Regions from separate parts of the Homo sapiens genome. Here region 2 is linked to region 1. The links are contacts of gene promoters, found by promoter capture Hi-C in blood cells and fetal thymus (Javierre and others, 2016). All regions are on one chromosome and are shown on one strand. Each heading gives the region's core, a stretch centred on a gene start or on the middle of the fragment in contact. The rest is flanking DNA. Distances are from core to core; before and after follow the strand shown.

Evidence for each region. Contacts are between HindIII fragments. The CHiCAGO score rates a contact against its expected background, and 5 or more counts as called.
Region 2: the fragment with the promoter of SNTA1 here is called in contact with the fragment with the promoter of CHMP4B in region 1 in 2 of 17 cell types (monocytes and total CD8 T cells); the score reaches 5.1 in monocytes.

The regions. Positions count from the first base shown.
Region 1 is chr20:33,808,289-33,813,465 of GRCh38, forward strand. CHMP4B (charged multivesicular body protein 4B) reads left to right here and starts at 3,060. Exons shown (of 5, transcript NM_176812.5): 1 at 3,060-3,370. The coding sequence starts at 3,181. It overlaps ZNF341-AS1 (ZNF341 antisense RNA 1), which reads right to left and starts at 2,811. Exons shown (of 4, transcript NR_110623.1): 1 at 2,752-2,811. RefSeq lists enhancers at 2,735-3,029, 2,769-2,848, 3,615-4,455, 4,284-4,353 and a silencer at 2,909-3,188. The HindIII fragment of the contact is 5,812 bases long and covers 1,935-5,177 here.
Region 2 is chr20:33,440,575-33,445,751 of GRCh38, forward strand. It overlaps SNTA1 (syntrophin alpha 1), which reads right to left and starts at 3,189. Exons shown (of 8, transcript NM_003098.3): 1 at 2,737-3,189. The coding sequence starts at 3,046. RefSeq lists silencers at 2,735-2,794, 2,905-3,384 and enhancers at 3,615-3,684, 3,663-4,163, 4,135-4,194. The HindIII fragment of the contact is 9,847 bases long and covers 1-5,177 here.

The DNA of each region.
Region 1 (5,177 bases), core at 1,810-4,309:
ACAGGTGCACGCCACCATGCCTGGTGAATTTTTGTATTTTTAGTAGAGACAGGATTTCACCACGATGGCCGGGCTGGTCTCAAACTCCGGGCCTCAAGTGATCTGCCCACCTCGGCCTCCCAAAGTCCTAGGATTACAGGTGTTAGCCACTATGCCTGGCCTCTTTCTTTTTAATTCATAGAAGTGTGGCTGCAGAAGTTGTAATCCTTTGGTGACCACACGAGTGGTTTTAATGCTGTGTTCTATCTGAGGATTGAATTCCATAATTTTGTCCTTTAATGTCTGTGCAATTTGAAACACTCGGCAAATTTTGATAACACCCATATTGCTGGTTCTGTTTCTGTTTCTCCTTCATTTTCCTCTTTCTTTGTAGATGACTTGACAAGTTCTTCCAATTCCACATTTGTTAACACTTCCCAGTGGCCTTCAATATGATCTTCCACTTCTTCATCAAGCATGTCCCCAAATCCTTCTCCACCAACTTGTCTTGCTGTAGCCTCTCCAGTAATATTTATTTATTTATTTGTGACAGGGTCTCACTCTGTCACCCAGGCTCGAGTGCAGTGGTGAGATCACAGCTCACTGCAGTTTCAAACTCCCAGGCTCAGATGATCTTCATGGCTCAGTCTCCTGAGCAGCTGGGACTATAGGCCTGTGCCATCATGCCCAGCTAAATTTTGTATTTTTTGTAGGGATGGGGTTTCGCCATGTTGCCCAGGCTGGCCTCAACTCCTGGGCTCAAGCGATCCACCTGCCTTGGTCTCCCAAAATGCTGGAATTACAGGCGTGAGTCACCGCACCCAACCTCCAGTAACTTTTTTTTTTTTTTTTGACACGGAGCCTCGCTCTGTTGCCCAGGCTGGAGTGCAGTGGTGCCATCTCGGCTCACTGCCAGCTCTGCCTCCCGGGTTCACGCCATTCTCCTGCCTCAGCCTCCTGAGTAGCTGGGACTACAGGCGCGTGCCACCATGCCTGGCTAATTTTTTTGTATTTTTAGTAGAGATGGAGTTTCACCGTGTTAGCCAGGATGATCTTGATCTCCTGACCTCGTGATCCGCCCGCCTCGGCCTCCCAAAGTCCTGGGATTACAGGCATGAGCCACCGCGCCCGGCCTTTTTTTTTTTTTTTTTTTTGACACGGAGTCTCTCTCTGTCGCCCAGGCTGGAGTGCAGTGGCGCAATCTCGGCTCACTGCAAGCTCTGCCTCCTGGGTTCACGCCATTCTCCTGCCTCAGCCTCCAGAGTAGCTGGGACTACAGGCACCCGCCGCCACCATGCCAGGCTAATTTTTTGTATTTTTAGTAGAGACGGGGTTTCACCTTGTTAGCCAGGATGGTCTCGATCTCCTGACCTCGTGATCCGCCCGCCTTGGCCTCCCAAAGTGCTGGGATTACAGGCGTGAGCCACCGCGCCCGGCTCCAGTAATTTTTTTTTTCTTTTTGAGACAGAATTTTGCTCTTTTCGCCCAGGCTGGAGTGCAATAGCACGATTTCAGTTTACTGCAACCTCTGCCTCTCAGGTTCAAGTGATTCTCCTGCCTCAGCCTCCCAAGTAGCTGGGATTACAGGCGTGCGCCACCACGCCCAGCTAATTTTTTTATTTTTATTTTTTATTTTTAGTAGAGATGGGGTTTCACCACGTTGGCCAGGCTGGTCTCAAACTCCTGACCTCAGGTGATCCATCCGCCTAGGCCTGCCAGAGTGCTGAGATTACAGGTGTGAGCCACTGTGCCCAGCCCATCCAGTAATTTTTATATTTTGCAGTCTAAACCTATTCCTAAGTCAGTGCAACCATCCATTACTTTCAGTAAGTGGCTTGGTGCCACTGGTTTTAGGAGATTCCTTGCTGAAGCCTTTATACAGGCTCAATGCTTTCTGGGGGGTAACAGGTTGCTGTCAGTTGGAACACATTTTTTGTTCGTGTCTTCCACGTATAAGCTTAATGCTTTTTCTTTTCTTTTGTAAAAAAATTTATTTTCTTTTTTTCCCCTGTAAGTAAGGATACAACTTAATGCCTTTTCTATCTTAACTAAGCACTTATCACACACTGTGGCTGTAACTTTTGCAGTTTGAGGTACGACAGCAAAACCAGCATGAATTTCTTTTTCCTCTTTCACAATTCTAGGGCTAGAAGATTCGTTCTTACTGCAGACCTCAGTAAGCTCAGCATACGATTTTTTTTCTTAAGCTCAGAACTTCCACATTTACATTTAAAGGAAGCACTTTACAGCTTCATTTTGGCATATCCAAACTGCCAGCATTACTACTCTTGCACTTTGGGGCCATTATATAGTAAAATGAGGGTTACTCGAACCAAAGCACTGCAACACCGTGGCAGTCCATCTGATAACTCCTAAGCTGGTAAGTAACTAACAGATGGTAGAGGTATGTTGGACAAAGGGATGATTCACATTGCAGGTAGGATGGAACAGGATAGCACGAGATTTCATTAGGCCAATGGAAATTAAAAACTTATGAACTGTTTATTTCTGGAATTTTCTATTTAATACTGTCAGACCTTAGCTGGCCAAGTGAAACTACTCAAAGTAAAATCTCAGATAAGGGGGACACTACCGTACTTAACTGGAGAAGATACTGCTTTGCTTCTGTGACCACAGAATTGACAGGTTGAAATTGGAAACAACTGTTGCCTTCACGCTTTTAAGACAACTTCACATGAATATACATGTGAAGTTCAAGCATGGCAGTATCCCATACTAGCAATAAATTTTTGAGCAGTGTTGCACACTTACTGTCATTTCTCTTACTGTTCTGCCACTCCTACAGAGCGCAGGCCAAGGAGACTACATTTCCCAGAATGCCACACGCCCTTTGACCCCAGCTACAGCAAAAGACGCGCCGGGGAGCGCCTGAAGCCGGAAGACTATAGCTTCCCGGCATGCAGCACGCTTCCCCCTATTAGATTTGAGGCGCGGCCGGCGCGTTGCCCACTGGGAGTTGTAGTCAGTGGCGCGTTGCCCTGACGCCTGCCGGGCCGGGCGTGGGGGCCTGTGGGAGGTGGCGCGGCCGGGCCCAGCTGCGGGGCGGAGGCGGAGGCGGAGGAGAGGCCTGCGGCGGCAGGGAGCGGCGGGACTGGGAGCGGGCGCCGGAGCCGACCCGAGCCGAGCCGAGCCGAGCCGAGCCGGAGCGGGCGGCGAAGGCCGGCGCGGCGAGCAGCAACCATGTCGGTGTTCGGGAAGCTGTTCGGGGCTGGAGGGGGTAAGGCCGGCAAGGGCGGCCCGACCCCCCAGGAGGCCATCCAGCGGCTGCGGGACACGGAAGAGATGTTAAGCAAGAAACAGGAGTTCCTGGAGAAGAAAATCGAGCAGGAGCTGACGGCCGCCAAGAAGCACGGCACCAAAAACAAGCGCGGTGAGGCTGCCCGGCCCCTTCAGACTTGCCACGGGCTCCCCCCAGGCTCCCCGGGCCCGGACTTCACCTTCATCAGACTCGCCTCGGGGTCTGGTCTGACCCTGGAACTCTCCGGGTCAGACTTCTTGCCGGGTCTGGGACCCCCTCCCCGACTCCCTTCAATGTCTCCCCGATCCCTGGACTTTTCCATCGTCAGACTTATTCTGCCCTCTCCCCTCAGCCTCTCTCCACCCCGCCAGGTCCCTTCAGACCCCAATCTCACAGCACTTTCCTCCGCCCTCACTCTGTCCCTTTCTCTTCCGCCTTTTCCTTCTCGCCTCACCCACCTGCCTAGCTACTGCCCCTGCCTCCTCCTCGGCTCATTTCTGCCCCCATCCTAGCATTTCTGTGCTTCCTGGTCCTACCTGTGCCCTCTCCCGACTCCTCGGTGGAATCTGTGAGCTGCCCCTTGGCCTCTCCCCTGTCCTCTTGTCTCAGAATTCTCGTTGAAAAGCCTCCTTGCTGGAGAGAAAAGGGGACTGGGGGAGATGAGACCCCCGATTCCTGCTCTATTCACTTGCTGAGTGAACTTGAGCAAGTTGCTTTCCCTTTGAGGCCTCAGTTTCCCCATCCGTCAGCCAGAGTTCGGCCTCTGTTGAGGCCTAAGGTGTTTTCCAGCGTTGTGATTCACTTTTTGTTGCCTCGTAGCTTGACCTTACCAAAGTTTCCCGTGGCGCAAGCCTTCACCCCATGACTCACCGCTTCCCCATCCGTCTGAACCAGAAATAGAGACTCCCGACTGCTCCCCAGTCCCCACTACTAGGATTCAGGGCCCCAGTATTGAATCTTGAGGCACTGCTTACTTTACTTCCTGTTGTCGTATGGCTTTCTGGGCATTCCAAGTGCTTTGTGTTTTTCTTAAGTGAGATGAATGTGAAAATGCTTTAAAACTGTAAAGCAGTTTAGAAATGTTTGCTTTTTCTTGTTATGGCCATGTGAGAGTGAATCACAGAACGACATCCCTTCCCCTTGAGAGGGGTTTAGGATTGAGGTAATTCACTCAGAAGTCTGCTAGTGACTAGCAGTGCGACCTTGAGCTCATTTACCTTTCTGAAAGGAAAATCATGGATTTACAGTGCTCAGCACATAGTAGGGGCTAAATCGATGTTTTCTCCATTCTAATAGGAGAACAAAATAGCCTATCTGGAGGATGCTTCTCTGCTGATAGTCAACAGATATTCTGGAAATTCTTTTTAGTGCCTGCTGCATGCGCTGTATTCATAGGGGTGAACAAAACACGGCCTCAACCCTAATGGGAGAGAAGACAGAAACAGGAAAATAAATGAAGAAAATATTGTCCGGGGGTGATAAGTACTAAACACACAAAAAGATGGTCTGATAGGGAGTGGTGGAGTGGGAGGGATGCCACTTTGGATAGAATGGTCAGGGAAGGCGTCTTTGAAAAGGTAAAGTTTGAACTGAGTCTGGAGAAGGAACCAGCTCTGTAAAAAAAAAAAAAAAAGGGGGAGGAGCCTTCTGGGCGTGGAAAGCAGCATGGGAAAAGGCTCGGAGGTTAGCAGGTTGTAAGAAACCGAAGAGAGAGACCCTTGTGTCCAGAATGTAGTGCTTGGAGGGAGAGTGGTATGGAATAAAGGGGGCGGGGCTTGGACTTTGAACCTGTTGGTGAAGAGTTTGAATTTTATTCCAAGTGGATGGAAAGTTTTTGGAGAGTATTTTGTTGGAACGTGTCCTTATTGACAGAGTTTTTAAAACATCATCTGGCTGCTCTTTGGAGAGTGGGTGGGGGATGCGGGTGGGAGCAGGGAGA
Region 2 (5,177 bases), core at 1,939-4,438, 370 kb before region 1:
GGTGGAGGTTGCAGTGAGCCAAGATCACACCACTGCACTCCAGCATGGGCGACAGAACAAGACTCCATCTCAAAATAAAACAAAAATACAAAAATTAGCCAGGCATGGCGGTGTGTGCCTATAATTCCAGCTACTCAGGAGGCTGAGGCACGAGAACTGCTTGAACCCAGGAGGTGGAGATTGCAGTGAGCCGAGATCGCACCACTGCACTCCACCCTGGGCAACAGAGCAAGACTGTCTCACACACACACACAAAAAGGCAACAATGTGGGAACCCACTGATACCCCTCAAACCGGAATCAAGAGACAAGTCGGCTATTCCTATGGCCTCAAAAGACTGCTTTAGCAATCATAATGTTTTACAATCCAAAGTCCAGGCTGGAAACCAAAGCCTTAGAGTCTAGAGATTCTAAAAACCTGCCTGAATGGCATCTTGGATACAAAAGAAGCTAATACATTTTACTAAACATCTTTATTACCAAACTCTTAAATGCCCTTTTAAAATAAGAAATAGTAATAAGAGTTCACCTTAGTTGCACTTACCAAATGCCAAGCACTGTGCTAAATGCTTTCAATGTTGATTCATTGCGTCTTTACAATACCCCATCACATAGGTATGTTCAGTTTCCTATTAGGGAAACTGAAGTGTGGAGGGAAGCCCCTTGTCCAAGGTCACTCCACTAGTAAGTAGCGAAGCCAGTATTTGCACCTAGGCCTCCAGGCTCCAGAACCAACACTATTAGCCCTACCACAGACGACAAGTCAGGCCCTCAGATATCACACTCCTGGCTCATCCCCAGAATACTGAAGATGAAGAATTAGTGGCCCAGAGTGGGAGGTCATTGTTCCAAGGTCACACAAGTCTGGTGGCGGAGCTGGGACTGGAACACCTCTCTTGACGCCCACACAGGCCCGACCGTTTGCTTATCTGCACAGAGCTTGAAGTCTAGGAGAGGAAGGGGTTTCTATTTATATCTGCCCTCCCCCACCTGAAACTAGGGGCTTCAGTTCAGTTTGAAGCTATGATCACTCATGGCTGCCTCAGACTAAGCTAGACTTTATAGGAGGGGTTACCATGGCAACAGGAGCCCAGATTTGGATCCAATGGAAATACCTGAAGTCTCCTAAAAGTACCCTCCCCTCCACCTAGAATTATGGAGCTGGGGAGTAACTTTGTGTGACCTTGCAAAGTCCCTGCTCCTCTCTGAGTCTCAGTGTGTCCATCTGCAGAATGGAATTCTGTATGAATAAGTTCCTTCCTGCTTTGACACACTGAGTGTATAATTTTTGGATTCATCTGTTGCCCTATCCCATGCTGGAGATTGGGGGTAAGACTGGTGCCCATACCCTCATTTTCTCATTTCTCCTTTTTAGCCCCTCTTGGTTGGCTGCCTGGGGATCTGCCCTTCTACAGGAAAGAATCAACTTCCCTGAGCACTCTCTGAGGGACAGTAGCTGATAATTAAGGTTCAAATCCCAGCACTGACACTCACTATGTAATCGTGGGAAAATCATTTTAACTTTCTGAGTCTCAGTTTCTTCACCTGCAATATGGGAATTATACTCCCTACCTTTCACCACTTGTTGCCAGGATGAAGTGGATCATGAGACTAGTGTCCTGGGCACAGCACCTGGCACACAGTGGTGGCATTCACCACCATCCCCACCGCCTCAGCCAAGCCAAACGGTCTGGAGGCACTAGTCAACAGAACCAGTACCAGGGAGACCCCAGAGGGTACGGTATGTATTCAAGGTGGAGACAAAGGCTGATACCCTTTCCCAAAGCACCTGCTGGGGGCTGGGACCCTGAGAAACAGATGGGCAGGAATAGTGAACCCAGCAGCTGGGGGTGTGCAAGGATTTTAACAACTATGTTTAGTTGCTTTGGGAGTATCTGCTGGCCTCCATTTTTCCTCTCCGCTAACAGCAGTAATTAACTAGGCACCTACAGTGTGCTGGTGTGGTGAGCCCTGCTCTCAGAAACATCACAACTCTGTCATCCTCTTATACAGTTGAGGAAACAGATTCAGAGGCGGGACGGGACTTTTGCAACCTCACACAGCTGATCCTGGATTCAAACACAGTCTGGTTGCACCCTAACTGCACCCCACTAGCGGTCAGTCCTGGGGGCTGAAAGCTCTATCCTGTGCAAGGTGGAGATAGTCAGATCAGGAGACCCAAATCCAGCTGTCAGGGCTCCCTGCAGCCTTCCTGGGTCCTTAGATTCCTAGGTCCTTGCTGGCCTTCTGCCTGTGACCCCAGCCTGTGCCTGCACCCAGGCCTCCTATCCACCCCTGTGCTTCCCAGACTCCAGGCTTCCCCTCTGCACCCACCTTGGTTGCTTCTCAGGGACTCCCTCCTCCCTGTCCCACTGGTGTCCCGGCCTCAACCCCCTTTCTCCACACTCTGCTTTCCGGGGGACCCCTCTTGTCCTTGATGTTCATGCTGGTTACCCCTCAGACCCCCCCGCCTCCACACAGAACTCCCACCCACGTGTCCTTGGTGCTCCCACAATCTTATCCACACCTGTGTCTTCCGTGCCCCCTAAGGCCACCAACTACTGAAACCCCCTCCAACCTTGGTGTGCCCAGTGCCCTCCGTTACCTGTTTCCTCAGACCCCCCTTACCCCCAGACAGGAAGCCTCCAGCTCCATGTCCTGGGCGCGCTGCCAGCCCCCTGCGCCCTCGGCTGCCCCCAGACACCACGACCCCGCGCCCTCGGTGTCCCGCGCCCACCTTTGATGCTGATGCCCAGCCCACCGGCGTCGGCCTTGCGCACCGTCACGCGGCGCCGCTGGAGCAGTAGCGCCTCTGGCAGCTGCGGGGGCCCGGCGCCCGGCTCCGCGGCGCCGTTGAGCTGCGCGGGCTCCTGCTCCCGCGGAGCGCCGGGCTCGGGACCAGGGTCGCCGTCGGCGGGGCTCACGGTCAGCACGTCCTCCGCCAGACTCAGCAGCACCCGCTGCCATCGCTCGCCGCCGGCCCCCGAGCCCGCCCCGGCGCGCAGCTCCAGCAGCCCGGTGCGCGGGGCGCGCCTGCCGGACGCCATCTTCGCCTCCGAGCCCCCGGGCCGCCGCGCTCGCCCTGTCCCGCTTTGCCCAGCCCGCTCCGACCAAGCGCCCAGGGCAGAGGGCAGCGGGGGCCCGGCTGGGCCAGCCGCCACCCTACCCCGGCCGCTGGGGGAGGAGCTCTGGGGGCGGGGCTACCCTGGGGTGTGGCCAGTGCTGGGGAGGGGGCCTCGGGCAAATGCAGGAGGCCGGGGCGGGGCCCGGGAGCCGAGGGCCGCCGTGTGGGACTACCTAGCGGGGTGGGTCAGAAGGGCGGCGGGGCGGGCCACTAAGTAAGGCGAAAGCCCGGGAGGCGTGGTGCTGGGCGGGGCGTCAGGGGGCGGGGCTTCGCGTCGGGGGCGGAACCCAGTGAGCCCGCGCAGGGGGCTCGGCGCTCGGAATGCCCATCGAGGGCCGGGACTGTAACTCCCGGACGTGGGAGCGCATGAAAAAGAGACAGAACCACGTATCCTGGTGCGAAGCACTGGGCATCGGGCTGGGCTGCATATGGCGGAGGGCTGGGCTGCGTATGGTAGAGCGTTGGACTCCAAGGCTTGAGTTTAAGAGGTAGACACCGTCTGGGCGTGGAGGCTCACGCCTGTAATCCCAACACTTTGGGAGGCCTAGATGACAGCCCAGAAGCTCGAGGCTGCAGTAAGCCGCGATCGCGCCACTGCACTCCAGCCTGGGTGACAGAGCGAAACCCTGTGTCAAAAAAAAAAAAAAAAAAAAAAGGTAGATGCTGAGCCGCGAGAGACCTTGCGGGCACAGTTGCTAGTTGGGGAGCTGAGGAAGAAGTTGGTTTCCTATCGGGGAGGGCGGGGGATGGGGGGTGGGGGTCGAGGCTTTGGTCTGTGGGCGTGGCTTATCGCTGGCGTGGCTTCTAAAGATGACAGGCCCCGCCCCCTGGAGGAGACCGCTACCGACACCGCTTAGGGCTTGGGGGAGGTGTGGGCAGGATCCCCACTTCAAAACTGGAGGGAAGTTTAAGAGATTAACCCCTGGCTGTGTTCACAGTCGAGTATAGAAAAGCCTGAAGTCCCACACTTTGAGGCCTGGCAGAAAAAAAACAGAACTGGTGTGTGGGAAGAGGGTTGCAAGGTGGGGCTCTGGGTCTGGGCGACTGGAGACATGGTTTCTAATCTTTGCTGCCTCTGTTAGCTCCAAGTCGACTTTGGTCCCCTCACGTCACTGCTCTAGGCCTCAATTTCCTCATCTGTAAAATGTGGATCATAATAATACCTACTTCACTGGGCTGGTGTGAGGATTAAATCAATGTGAAAACACGTGGTAAACTGTGACTCCCTATTCTATAGAAATAATCACTTTCATTTAGTGAATGCTTACTCTTACCTAGGGCTGGCAGAATATTTTCCAAGTGTTATCTTTACATTAGCCTCCTGGAGTAGCTAAGAGCACCCCCAGCTGGGCACAGTGGCTCACACCTGTAATCACAGCTGAGGTGGCAGGATCGCTTGAGCCTTGGAGGTCCAGGCTGCAGTGAGCTGTGATTGCACCATCACACTCCAGCCTTGGTGACAGAGCAAGAAAAAAGAGCACCCCTATTATACAGAAGGGAAAACTTGGATTTAGTCTAATTGGCCTAGGTCACACATTTATGAGTGAGGAAGAGCTGCGATTCAAACCCAGGCCTGTTTGACACCAGTGCCTGGGCACTGAACCACTCTGCTAGACAGCTGACAAATACAGAGGTAAAGCATGATTGTAATCTGAAAAATCCACCACATCACACAGCTCAACTGGCCTTCATACCTGCTCCTTGTCTCTATCCTCCATTCCTAGCTGGGATATGTTGAGCAATAAATAAGTAGGACTACACCAGTGTTTAGCCTCCCTGAACTTTTGGGTAAAATCCTCCACATAAGATACCATCAAGAAAAAAAAGAGGGGGCCAGGTATGGTGGCTCATGCCTGTAATCCCAGCACTTTAGGAGGCCGAGGCAGGTAGATCACGAGGTCAGGAGTTTGAGACTCAGCCTGGCCAACATGGTGAAACCCCATCTCTACTAAAAATATAAAAAAATTAGCCGGGCGTGGTGGCAGACACCTATAATCCCAGCTACTCAGGAGGCTGAGGCAGGAGAATCACTTGAACCCGGGAGGCGGAGATTG